Linked DNA regions of Homo sapiens: region 1 is linked to region 2. The links are contacts of gene promoters, found by promoter capture Hi-C in blood cells and fetal thymus (Javierre and others, 2016). All regions are on one chromosome and are shown on one strand. Each heading gives the region's core, a stretch centred on a gene start or on the middle of the fragment in contact. The rest is flanking DNA. Distances are from core to core; before and after follow the strand shown.

What was found. The method cuts DNA at HindIII sites, captures the fragments that hold promoters and counts their contacts. A CHiCAGO score of 5 or more calls a contact.
Region 1: a fragment that was not itself captured here is called in contact with the fragment with the promoter of MAK16 in region 2 in 1 of 17 cell types (total B cells); the score reaches 7.6 in total B cells.

The regions. Positions count from the first base shown.
Region 1 is chr8:37,629,423-37,635,440 of GRCh38, reverse strand. All of the region lies in intron 1 of LOC105379380 (a long non-coding RNA gene), which reads left to right. LOC124901931 (a long non-coding RNA gene) reads left to right here. Exons shown (of 2, transcript XR_007060886.1): 2 at 2,090-2,786. Among named protein-coding and RNA genes, the nearest start is that of LINC01605, 33 kb to the right of the region's middle. RefSeq lists an enhancer at 3,717-3,766. The HindIII fragment of the contact is 914 bases long and covers 3,402-4,315 here.
Region 2 is chr8:33,481,716-33,487,970 of GRCh38, reverse strand. It overlaps MAK16 (MAK16 homolog), which reads right to left and starts at 2,789. Exons shown (of 10, transcript NM_032509.4): 1 at 2,750-2,789. The coding sequence starts at 2,764. RefSeq lists silencers at 2,782-2,969, 3,180-3,369 and enhancers at 2,860-3,009, 2,997-3,633. The HindIII fragment of the contact is 3,746 bases long and covers 894-4,639 here.

The sequences.
Region 1 (6,018 bases), core at 2,609-5,108, 4.1 Mb before region 2:
TAAAAAAATTTACACAAAAATTTGGGACTAATGATACGTACTCATTCACTCTTTCTTTCAAAATTGGTTGGGGTCCTTCTATTGGCTCAAAGGAGGTATTTGCTAGAACTGTGCAGGGGGCTGGAGATTAAAGTGACAACAATGAGGTCCCTGTTCTTGGGAATTTGCAGATTAGTGAGGGGTCCACTCTGTCTATACTGGCAAGGAGAGATAATTCCACTGTGGCATGGTAGAAGAGGACATCACGGAGGCAGTGATGTTGATGTTGGATCTTGAAGGATGAGTACAAGTTTACCGGGACCAGTAGTTCTAGGGAAGGGAACAGGATGAGCAGAGTTCAGCATGCCAGTAGCTTGGTTTGCAAGGGAGGGTGGCTGGGGATAAGATGGAAAAGGCAGGGCAAAGCCATATTTTGGAAGACATTAAATGTTACCCCAAGGAGTTAGGCTTTATCCTGTCAGTGAAAATAAAGCATTGAAAGTTTTGTCCAGGGGCTGGACATAGTCATTTCTGTGTTGGGGGCTGGACATAGCAAGGTCTGTGTTGGAGCCAGCTGCCTTTGGCAGTGTGTTGAAGCGTGGTTTGCAGTGAGGGGAGACTGACGTCAGAGAGACAGCTAAGTCTGTGATGATCTGAGTGGGAAGTGCGGAGGGTCATGTTGATTACTGTAGCGACTACAAGCTCTGAGAATGTGTGATTCACACTCAAATAGTGATCAAATAACAACAATTTTTCAAAAAGGTTGGGAATAATATAGAGGTCCAATTTAATGTTTCCACCATATTTTTTTTTTCAGGGGTAGGGTACTAGTGTGTATGTGATTTTAATAAAAATATGTTTAAAATCATTAAATACATCTTTTATTTATTTGTATTCGTATATATTCATGGGGTGCAGGTGCAATTGTGCTACCTTGATGTATTGCACTGTGGTGAAGTCAGGGCCTTCAGTGCATCCGTCACTGGAGCAATGCACAGTGTACCCACCAAGCAACCTCCCATCATCCACCCTCTCCCACCCCTTGAAGTCCCCATTGTCCATCATTCCACACTCTGCTTCCATGTGTACACATTATTTAGCTCACTTATTAAGTGAGAACAGGCAGTATTTGCCTTTGTTTAAGTTGTTTCACTTAAGATAATGGTCTTCAGTTCCATCCAAGTTGCTGCAAATAGTATGGCTGAATAGTATTTTTTATGGCTGAATAGTATTCCATGGTGTGCATAGACCACATTTTCTTTATCCAATTTTCCATTGATGGACACTTAGGTTGACTCCGTTTCTTTGCTATTATGAATAGTGCTGTGATAAACACACAAGTGCAGGTATCCTTTTGATATAATGAAAATACATGCTTCTTGTAAAAAAAAATATAGGCAAGAATAAGTTAGGGATGCATGAAAAGTCTGCCTTGGCCTTGCTACTTGTCTCAAATCTGCTATTTGGCTTCAGCTCTGGAGTTGGCCTGCAGAAGGCTGTATAGTTGATGGCAACTTCAATGTCATTTCTTGCATCCCTGAACTTGTATGTGATTGCATTGAATCTAATGATCATAACCATAGCAGTGATATGAACAAGGTATGGCACTGAGATTTATTAATAGCAAAACATTCATTCTGAAATAGAGGCACATCCTCTAGGTGTAACTTGGAGTGGGAATCTCTTTTGTGCTGTAAATTCCATCAAATTCCATCAGTCGGTTGAAGTTAAAATGTGCATTTATAATCATTGCAAGACTAAAGAGCTGCAATAACTGTGAAAGTGAGTGTTGTTACTTTTACGTACAGGAATTATGATGAACTTTCAAATAGTTACATAAATACGGGAAGAGTCAGCACTTAATTAGAGTCATAGGGGAGTAATGCTAGCTAGACAACTTTAGGGAAAACATATCCTTGTATCCTATTTGGGAGCCAAAACTATTATAAAATCCTAAAAAATAACTTTTAATAACTTTTTATTAAAGTTGATTAGCTGATGTCATTAAATCTCATTTTTACAGAATTATTTGTTGTAGCAACATGCATGACATTAAATAAAACAACCTTTCAGAGCTGTTTTTCATTTTTAAATATTTAATTCCCTCGAGGCCAGAAATCTTTCAAGAAAAAGTCTCATTTGAAAATCTTTCACATCTTGTGAGGATGAATAAAAGACAGAATGTCAACTTTGCCGCCTTAAAATTTCAAAAAGAGGAAACATTCCAAAATCGCATACAGCATCCATGATACATGATCCTTGATCCAGACATAAAAGAGAATATAAAAATGAAGAAAAGAGACGCTGTTAGAGAAAAATGGGACTTCCCTCCAAACATCTTGCTCCTCACCCACATGGGTGGAAGTGATCAACCCTCAGTCACTCAAATGGGCACAGGAAGGGCCTTGGATTATCCCTTCAAGCTGGCGGCCCAAGAAAACTGTTTCTGCACCCTATGTCAGCCCTTAAAACTTTACTATAGCTCTAATTCAAAATTGTAATAATAAAATTTGTATTTAAAATTATGCACAGGCTTTGGCCTCCTCTTCAGCTGAACTTTAACACTTGGCCATTTGGCATTCAGCCATAATGTACCTGTAACTGTAATGTACCCCTAAATATAAATTGAAAATCTTTTCTTCCCCCAACCCCTGGTCTCTTCTCCAGAGATTACCACTGGTGCTTAAGGGCCTTGTAATATTTCTATAAAATATTTGTATTTGTTCTTGCAACAGTGGGATCATCCCATATACTCTCCAGTAATTTGTTATGTACCATTACATTAAAGATAATTTAATTCAAACATCTTTCCATGAGACTATGTGTAGCTCTATCTTATGTTTTGTAATGACTTGCATATATTCTGTTGTATGGATGTGGCATTATTTAATGACCCAATCCTTAATTAAAGAACATTTAGTCTATTATCATTTTTTTTGAGAGGGAGTCTCGCTTTGTTGCCCAGGCTGGAGTGCAATGGCACAGTCTCGGCTCACTGCAACATCTGCCTCCCGGGTTCAAGCTATTCTCCTGTCTCAGCCTCTTGAGTAACTGGGATTACAGGTGTTGGCCACCACGCCTGGTTAATTTTTTAAAAATGTTTAGTAGAGACAGGGTTTCACCATGCTGGCCAGGCTGGTCTTGAACTCCTGACCTCAAGTTATCCACCTGCCTTGGCCTCCCAAAGTGCTGGATTACAGACATGAGCCACCATGCCAGCTGACTTAAGCTGTTTCTAATTTTCATCCATTGTAAAGAATGCTGCAATAAGCATTTTATACAGTTTTTTGTGAGCACTAATTATTTCCTTCATATATATGTATGCAAACACACACGCACATATTTTTGGTGTATCTTGCGATATTGTCTTTTGAAATATTGTATCAATTAATATTCCCACCCACAGTGTATATAAAGAAGCTTGTTTCCCTCACCAATACTGATTATCATCTGCCTTTTGAATCTTCGCCACTGTTGTGTGAAAATGATCTCCTGATATTTTAATATACATCTTTTTTTATTAGTGAGGTTGGACATTTTTCTATATGTCATCGTGTTGATAAGTTTTAATCTCAGAGGAAGTGATGCCATCCTAAGTGAAGGAGGAAACACACACTATGTGATGCTCTTGTTTTAGGTGGTTCCACATAGAACATGTGATGGGTGCTTGACACTCACTGTAGCAGTCAGGTCACTTTCACTTCCTCCTTTCGGTTAATTCCCATAATCTCCCTGTGAAGGCTTTATTGTTATTCTGAACATTTCAAATGTGAGAAGATGGGGCTCAGAGACGTCAGCTGATTGACCTGTGATTTCATGGGTAAAACAAGTAGATCTGGGGTTTGAAGTTCAATTTTCTAAATCCCAGTCTTCATTTCAGTTTACCACATTGTGTTTGCTACTGAAAAATCTAAATCCAGATTCCTGGACAAAAATTTCTCAAATAGAAAAAAATCACTATACTTACTGAGCACGGCCCTGCAGGCCCATTATCTCGTTGAATCCTCATTATGAATCTATGAGGGAAGAGAAAATTATCATCCACACATACAGGGTTTTAACCTTGGAAAGCTATCCAGAATCCATGCTTATAACCACTGTGTCCCACGGCATCTATACCGACTAGCACAGTGCCCTCTCATGTATGCTAAGGAGTCCCCCAGACTGCAGGGCGTTGCTTGAGAATGTGAAATTGATTCAAGGGTGACAAGACAAAATCAGGCTGAGAATTAAGGTTGAGGGATGGTAGGTATACTGTTTTCTTCACCAAGGACACTAGTGGCATTTATGGCAGGACAGTTCTTTATGCAGGTGATCTCCTATATCGCTGGAAGCTTAGCATCCTGGGTTCCTGCCCCCGAGTAGCATCTCTCAGGTCCTCTGACAACACAAACCTCACTCCCTGAATTTCCAGATGCCCTGTGAGTGGGAGTTACTTCCCTGGTTGAGAACCACTGTGCGAAGGGACCCTTCTTTGATAATGGTATGTATTTATGTCTTGGCTGATGTGATTCTGTTGTGTCTGGTATAGTTGTGCTGTTCAGGCCAACCCTCTTGCAGAGGGACTAGGATTTGCAGAATGTTCTGCAAAGGTAATGTGGTATTTCTGGGGCTTCCTTTGAGGCTGATCCTCAGTAACCCTCCGAGCTCGTAGTGTAGCCTCTGTCTGCAGTCAATAAATGTCAATACTTGCACTTGATGGATGTCTGGGTGTCTGCTGTTTTGTGCTGGGCTGTAGCCTATGGCAATCACTTTTCCAGGCCCAGATATTTTTCTTCCTTTTGATTGCAGAGGGAGCAGCAGGCAGGGGAATCGCCTGTTCACAGTCCCATTGCTATAGGGAAAGGCTTTGGAATGGTTGGAACTCAAGCTCTGTGGATTGGCTTCTCTGAAAGCCAGCCGGGCCCAGTCCTCCTGGCCATAAGAACAACTCCACTGGTTTAGCTGAGCCCTTTATGCCAAACCCATGGCATGCCCAGGGCTGTGTGTGAGCTCATGGCATGTGCAGGAAGAGCTGGGGCCTCTAGGGTGCAGTCAGCAGAACTTCAGGAAACTTGGGGAGGAAAAGGCAGTGAGTGGCTACCTGGGGTTTGGCTTTTAGCTCCAAGCTGCCTCCAGCCGGCCGGCCGTGCCCACCAAAGTGGCTCTGTGGCCATACTTTTTAAGGTAGTGGCAGTAGTGCAGTATTGAAACCATTACTTATTTTCAATTTGCCCAGTGAGGAGAGTTTGTAATGGTGGAAACTAGAATATGTGTGCAGAGGAAGAGAATCCTGAAAAAGGAAGTTCTTTGCAGCAGCTACATTTTTAACATAAGGGAGAGTGGTCTTTCTGAGTTCTCCTTCCTCATTTGTGTAGATAGAAGAGATCTCCTTTATCCCTGTCATTTTCTGGGGCTAGGCTATGAACAAAAAAGCTCATGGTTGAAAAGCAATTTTTTTTTTCTCTTGAGTCAGAGTCTCATTCTGTGGCCCAGGCTGGAGTACAGTGGTGCGCTTTCGGCTCACTGCAACCTCCTCCTTCTGGGTTCGAGTGATTTCTCCCACCTCAGCCTCCTGAGTAGCTGGAATTACAGGAGCCCATCACCACACCTGGCTAGTTTTTGTATTTGTTTAAGTAGAGATGGGGTTTCACTATGTTCCCATCCCTTTCCAGGATCTGCTGCTGTGTGTGTTCACTGCCCTTCCTCTGGCACCCACCTTCCCACAGATGTGTTCTGTGGCTTCCTAGGAGTCAGCTGAAGAGAACAGGTGGGACCTTTTTTATTAGGTTGGCACAAATGTCATTGAGGTTTTTGCCATTACTTTATGCAAATTACATTTGCACCAACCTAATTGCAGCTATCAGGGCAGCACTTGCATCTACGGAGAGAAATTACAAAGGATGCTAGGGATGCATGCTTTATGCAGATTCCACTTGTTCACCACTAACTTTGTACCTTTGTTTTAATGTAGACCTGGGTCACAACCCAAGTGGGTAAGCACCTTGGAGTGGTTAAGCCTTGCAGAGTTAGGGCTGACTGAGGAGGATTCTTTCTTTT
Region 2 (6,255 bases), core at 1,540-4,039:
GACAACAAGAGTGAAACTCCGTCTCAAAACAAAACAAAACAAAACAAAAAAGCCCAGCAGATTCTTATAGAAAAGCTAAATACAGATGAGCAATAATCATAACTCCATTACCCAGAGATAAAATTTCATTACTATTCTGTAAATATTTTTCCAGACTTTTTTTGACATACTCTGTGAAATCACATTTTATATACTTCGTAACTTTCCCTTTTTACTTATGTTCATTATCCATTATTAAAGGCTCTCATGGGCCGGGTGTAGTGGCTCACACCTGTAATCCCAGCACTTTGAGTGCCAAGGCAGGCGGATCACTTGAGGTTGGGAGTTTGAGGCCAGCCTGGCCAACATGGTGAAACCCCATCTCTACTAATAGAAAAATTAGCCAGGTGTGGTGGCAGGTGCCTGTAATCCCAGCTACTTGAGAGGCTGAGGCAGGAGAATCGCTTGAACCCAGGAGGCAGAAGTTGCGGTAAGCCGAGATCACGCCACTGCACTCCAGCCTGGGCGACAGAGTGAGAATCCATCTCCAAAAAAAAAAAAAAGGCTTCATGGTATTAGATTTTTAGATATACATACCATAATTTTATCTCATTGAGGGCAAAGAAAACTATCTACTGCTATCCTCCTGTACTTAATGTGCTCTTTATTCATTCAGCATTATATACTTAATTTATGTAAGGCACTGACATCTCCAAGTCCTGACACACAGTAGCCACTTAAGTATTTGCTGAATGAAAGAAAGTATACTCTTTAAAGAGTTTCGTCTATCTAGTTAGGGGAAAGATATGTAAACAAAGTATCACAAAATAGCAGGTCTAAAGGCCACATAGCATGCGTAAGAGTATGACAGCCTTTGAGTGCGCTGCCTTGAGGAACTGGGGTAAAAAAAAGCTTTACCACTGTTAAAGGAAAAATATGAAGAGGGCAAAAGAATAAAACACACTTTAAGAATTTTATAGGTGTGTCTGGTGGGGGATGGTAGGAAACAGGTAAGAAGAATAAGGGAGCTCTTTTAGGCTTGTGGCTTTAAGTATCATCTCTAAATGGATGACTCCTAAATTGTTATTTTCTGGTCAGACTTCTTTCCTGAGCACCAGATTTTTATATGACATCTCTTCAATATCTAAAAGGCAACATAAATATTAACATATCCACAAGGAGTTCTCAATTCCACATCCCTCGTAAGAACAGTCTTCCCTAGAGTTCCCCCACTTCAATAAATAAAATCACCATTTAACTATGTATTTATATCCCAAATCCTTTGATTTCTTCCTTTTCTTCTTCACTTAATCCATCACCAAAGTCTTGTCAATTATACTGACGTAAAAGGTCTCAAATTCATCAATTTCTTTTCATCTCCACCATTAAATTACTACCTTAGGCGAAGCCACTTTCGTTTTTAAAAAAATTTATTTACTTTAGAGATAGGGTCTCTCTGTCACCCAGGCTGGAGTGCAGTGGTGCCATCATAGCTCACTGCAGCCTCGGACTTTTCGGCTCAAGTAGTCCTTCTGCCTCAGCCTTCGAAGTAACTGGGACCTCAGGCGAACACCACCGCGCCCAGCTAATTTTTTATTTTTTGTAGAGATGGAGTCTCACTTTATTGCCTAGGCTGGAATCGAACTCCTGGCCTCAAGCGATCCTCCAGCCCCAGCCTCCCAAAGCGTTGGGATTACAGGCATGAGCCACTGTGTCTGGCTTGAAGCAACCTTTGTCATACCCTAGTCTCCTTGCTTTCATTTTTTCCCTCCAAAAGTCCTTCACACAGCAACTAGACAACTTTTCACAAACATAGATCATTAAAAGGCCTAAAAAACACTTCCTACAAGATTCTGCATGACCTCGCCCTGGCAAGCATATCTAATTTCATTACCTGTCTTACATTGTCACTTTGATGACCCTTATATTCATTCTCTCATATCTTCAACTCTTTGTACTTTACTGTTCCTACTGCCTGGATTGCTTTTTCCTCAGCTCCTCAGTGACTGGCTTATTCTTATCTTTTAGATCTCAACTCAAACATCTTCTGTTCAGAGAAACCTTCCCTGAGTAACCCTATCTGAAGTGTCCTTCATCATCTCTGGTCTTTCTTTCATAGTATGATTATATAGTGTAATTGTTAACTTATTTGTTCACTTGTTTACTGTGTCTCCCCCATCAGTGTTCCAGGAGAGGTGGGACATTTTTTCTGGTTAACCAAATCCTCAATAATTACCACAATGCCTGGCACACTGTAAGCACACTGTTATTTCTCCAACAAAAAACTCAATGAATGAATCTAGGATACTTCCGAAATTATGACTTAGGCAGAAGTAGAGCAAATGTAAAGAAAAGCCTACACAGGAAACGCAGATGGAAGAGTAACGCGCACATGGATGAGAAGGACGCTTAAACTTGGAGTCAGCTTCGCCAAATCCCGGGCCGCCCCCCACCCCAAGTCCGGAGCTGACAGCTGACAGCTGACAGCATGACGCGACGTCCTGCATTGGTAGGCACGAAGGACGGGACACATCGACCCCATGGGCTGAGGTGACGGAGTCCTGTGCTCACAACCCGGCCGGGGCAGCGGGCAGTAAACCCCTGCTAGACACGCGTGAGAACCTATGTTGGAAAATCGGGGTTCCGGAAGCCTCACATCCAGAGCGGCACGAGGCAACAGACCCGCTGCGTACGCGTTTTCTAAGTGTCCGAAAATGGGCAAAATTCCCTGCGCAAACCCCGGGTGTAAGAACAACCGGAGGAGACTCACATCATCCGACTGCATGGTGTCCGCGGCTCAGCGTGCAACTTCCGGTCGGATCGCGGGCGCAGACATGCTCCTTCCGGGAAACCAGTTCCGGAACGCGCAGCCTCACCTATCTCGAGAAACGCTGAGACTCTCGGTGTTGCGAAGCGTCCCCTGGCAGTCTCGTCGCCGCGCGCGCGCCCCCGCGTCTTCACCACGCTGGCGTCTGCGCGCGCCCGTCCGCAATGCTGGGCTTGTTCATGGGCGCAGCCTGGAGCTGGGAACCCTGTTGGGACCCAGTGCGATCCGCGGGAGGCAGGACGCGCGCAGTCTGCCGAATCCTGGAGCGCGGGGACCGCGGGGGTCGGGCGTGCTTCCCTAGCGCCCTGTTTGTGACCGTTCATGAGGATGGGACCCCTCCCTGTCGGGCCTCCCCTCTGCTGGGAGGAGGCTGGGGAAAGCTGCAGGCGGCGCGGCGGGGCTGGGTCCCCGCTCCTCCGAGTCCCCCGGCCCCAGCTCGCAGCCAGGCCCCGGCCCTGCCCCTCAGACCCTGACTTAGCCACTCCCCACGCCCACGTTGGGTGCGGCACCGGGTCCTGACTTTAGAAACTCAGAACTTGAATTCCTCCTGCTTTGAGAAACCACTGACCAAATGGAAAGAGCATTCCAATAATAATAAACACCTGTGTCTTCCTCATTGCCTATTTGAGACAACAAACAAAGTTGATAAGGGAGGGAAAATACCAAGAAGAAAAGTAGAGGTCTAATAACCCACAAAAACAAATCTGGAAGCCTAACAGCTCTTTTCCGCCAGGGGAAAAAGAAAATCTTTACTAGTTTGTATCGTATTATAGAAGAAAGACTGTCGGCCGGGCCGGGCGCGGTGGCTCTCGCCTGTACCTCAGCACTTTGGGCGGCCTAGGCGGGCGAGTTCCAGACCAGCCTGGCCAACATAGTGAAATCCCGTCTCTACTAAAAATACAAAAATTAGTCGGGCGTGGTAGCAGGTGCCTGTAATCCCAGCTACTTGGGAGGCTGAGGCAGGAGAATCGCTTGAACCCGGGAGGCGGAGGTTGCAGTGAGCCGAGATCATGCTGTGGCCCTCCAGCCTGGGTGACAACCAAAACTACCTCTCAAAAAAAAAAAAAGAAAAAGAAAAAAGAAAAGGAAAGAAAGACTGTCAAGAGGCATTTGAACCAGAGCAACCCCATCTTGAATAGTGGCTGGGTAAAATAAGGCTGAGATCTGCTAGGCTGCATTCCCGAGGGTCAGGCCATCTAAATCACAGGATGAGGTCAGCACAAAATACAGGTCATAAGGATGTTGCTGATAAAACAGATTGCAGTAAAGAAGCCAGTCAAGACCCACAAAACCAAGATGGCAATGAGTTTGACCTCTGGTCGTCCTCACTGCTACACTCCCACTGGCGCCACAAATGCCATGGCAACATCAGGAAATTACTCTATATGGTCTAAAAAGGAGAGGCGTAAGTAATCCGCTCCGTGTTTAGCATATAATCAATAAATAGGCTGGGCTTGGTGGCTCACGCCTGTAATCAGCATTTTGGGAGGCCGAGGCAGGTGGATCACCCGAGGTCAGAAGTTCAAGACCAGACGGGCCAACGTGGTGAAACCCCATCTCTACTAAAAATACAAAACTTAACCAGGCGTGGTGGTGGGCACCTGTAGTCCCCGCTACTTGGGAGGCTGAGGCAGGAGAATCACTTGAATCTGGGAGGCAGAGATTACAGTGAGCTGAGATCAAGCCGCTGCACTTCAGCCTGGGCAACAGAGCAAGAATCAGTCTCAAAAAATACATGAACAAATAGCGATAAAAATGGGCAACCAGCAGCCCTCGGTGCCGCTCTGCCTATGCAGTAGCCATTCTTTCATTCCTTTACTTTCTTAATAAGCTTGCTTTCACTTTACGAAACTTATGGACTCACCTCAAATTCTTTCTTGCTTAAGATCCAAGAACCCTCTCTTGGGTCTGATTGGGGACCACTTTCCAGTAACAAGACCATTTTAATAACAAAAGTGTAAGAAGGACACAGTCTCAGTAAGGATGGCGTGTGTCCGGGAGGCCACCCACAGGTCCTAGAGGCTGCCTGTGGCTTCTTGCCACATGGGATTTCTCAACATAGCTCCTTACTTCATCAAGCCAGCAACGAGTTAAATTCCAGTCTGCTAAAACAGAATCTTAAATAATGTTAATCTTAAATAATCTTAAATAATCTTAAAAAATTATGGCAGTGACTTTCCATAGACTTTGCCTTATGCCATTGGTTAGATCAAGTCACAGGTGCCACCCTCACTGGAGGGGAGGAGAAGATACAAGACATGAACACCAGGGAGTGGGACTCACTGGGGTCACCCTAGGGATACCCTGGATTTGACTGCAACTGAAACACATGAGAAATTTGATATAAAGTTTAAAAGCATTTATCATGATATTATGTAGTATTTAGTGAGGCAGAGCTTGCGGTGAGCCGAGATCCCGCCACTGCACTCCAGCGTGGGTGACAGAGCGAGACTCTGTCTCATTAAAAAAACAAACAAACAAAAAGTAATCTCCAGTTCAAAAGAAGAATGAAAGAAAATTTAGCCGTGTGCGGTGGCTCACACCTGTAATCCCAGCACTTTGGGAGGCCAAGACAGATGGATCAGCAGGTCAGGAGATCGAAACCACCCTGGCCAAGATGGTGAAACCCTGTCTCTACTAAAAATACAAAAATTAGCCGGGCGTGGTGGTGGGTGCCTGTTATCCCAACTCTTCGAGAGGCTGAGGCAGAGAATTGCCTGAACCCACAAGGCAGAGGTTGCAGTGAGCTGAGATCGCACCACTGCACTCCAGCCTGGGTGACAGAGCGCAACTCAGTCTCAAAAAAAAAGAAAAGAAAAGATAAGAAAATGTAATGCTATTTCAACATTCTCTATACATACCCGCATTCTCCTCTGTTACCACAGTGCACTATGTATTCCTCACTAGTGTTGTATTATTGTTATTGGTTTATTATCTCTTAGGCCTTGAGCTTTTCTGTTTTTTTTTTTTCTTTTCTTTTTTTTTTTTTTTTTTTTTTTGAGACAGAGTCTCACTCTGTTGCCCAGGCTGGAGTGTAGTGGTGCGATCTCAGCTCATTGCAACCTCCACCTGCTGGGTTCAAGCGATTCTCTTGCCTCAGCTTCCCAAGCAGCTGGGACTACAGGCGTGTTCCACTATGCCCAGCTAATATTTACATTTTTAGTAGAGACAGGGTTTCACCATGTTGGTCAGGCTGGTCTCAAACTCTTGACCTCAGGTGATCCGCCCACCTTGGCCTTCCAAAGTGCTGGGATTACAGGTGTGAGCGCCCAAGCCAGGCCAACGTTGAGCTTTTCAAGATTAAGGATGATGTCTTTTCATTTCTTTATCCACAATCTCCTGTACAGTTCCTGGTACATAATAAATTCACAATAAATTAGTTGTTAGGTCTCTATTTACTTATTTATTTAGAGACAGGGTCTCCGTTGTCTTACCTTCCAGGCCTCTGC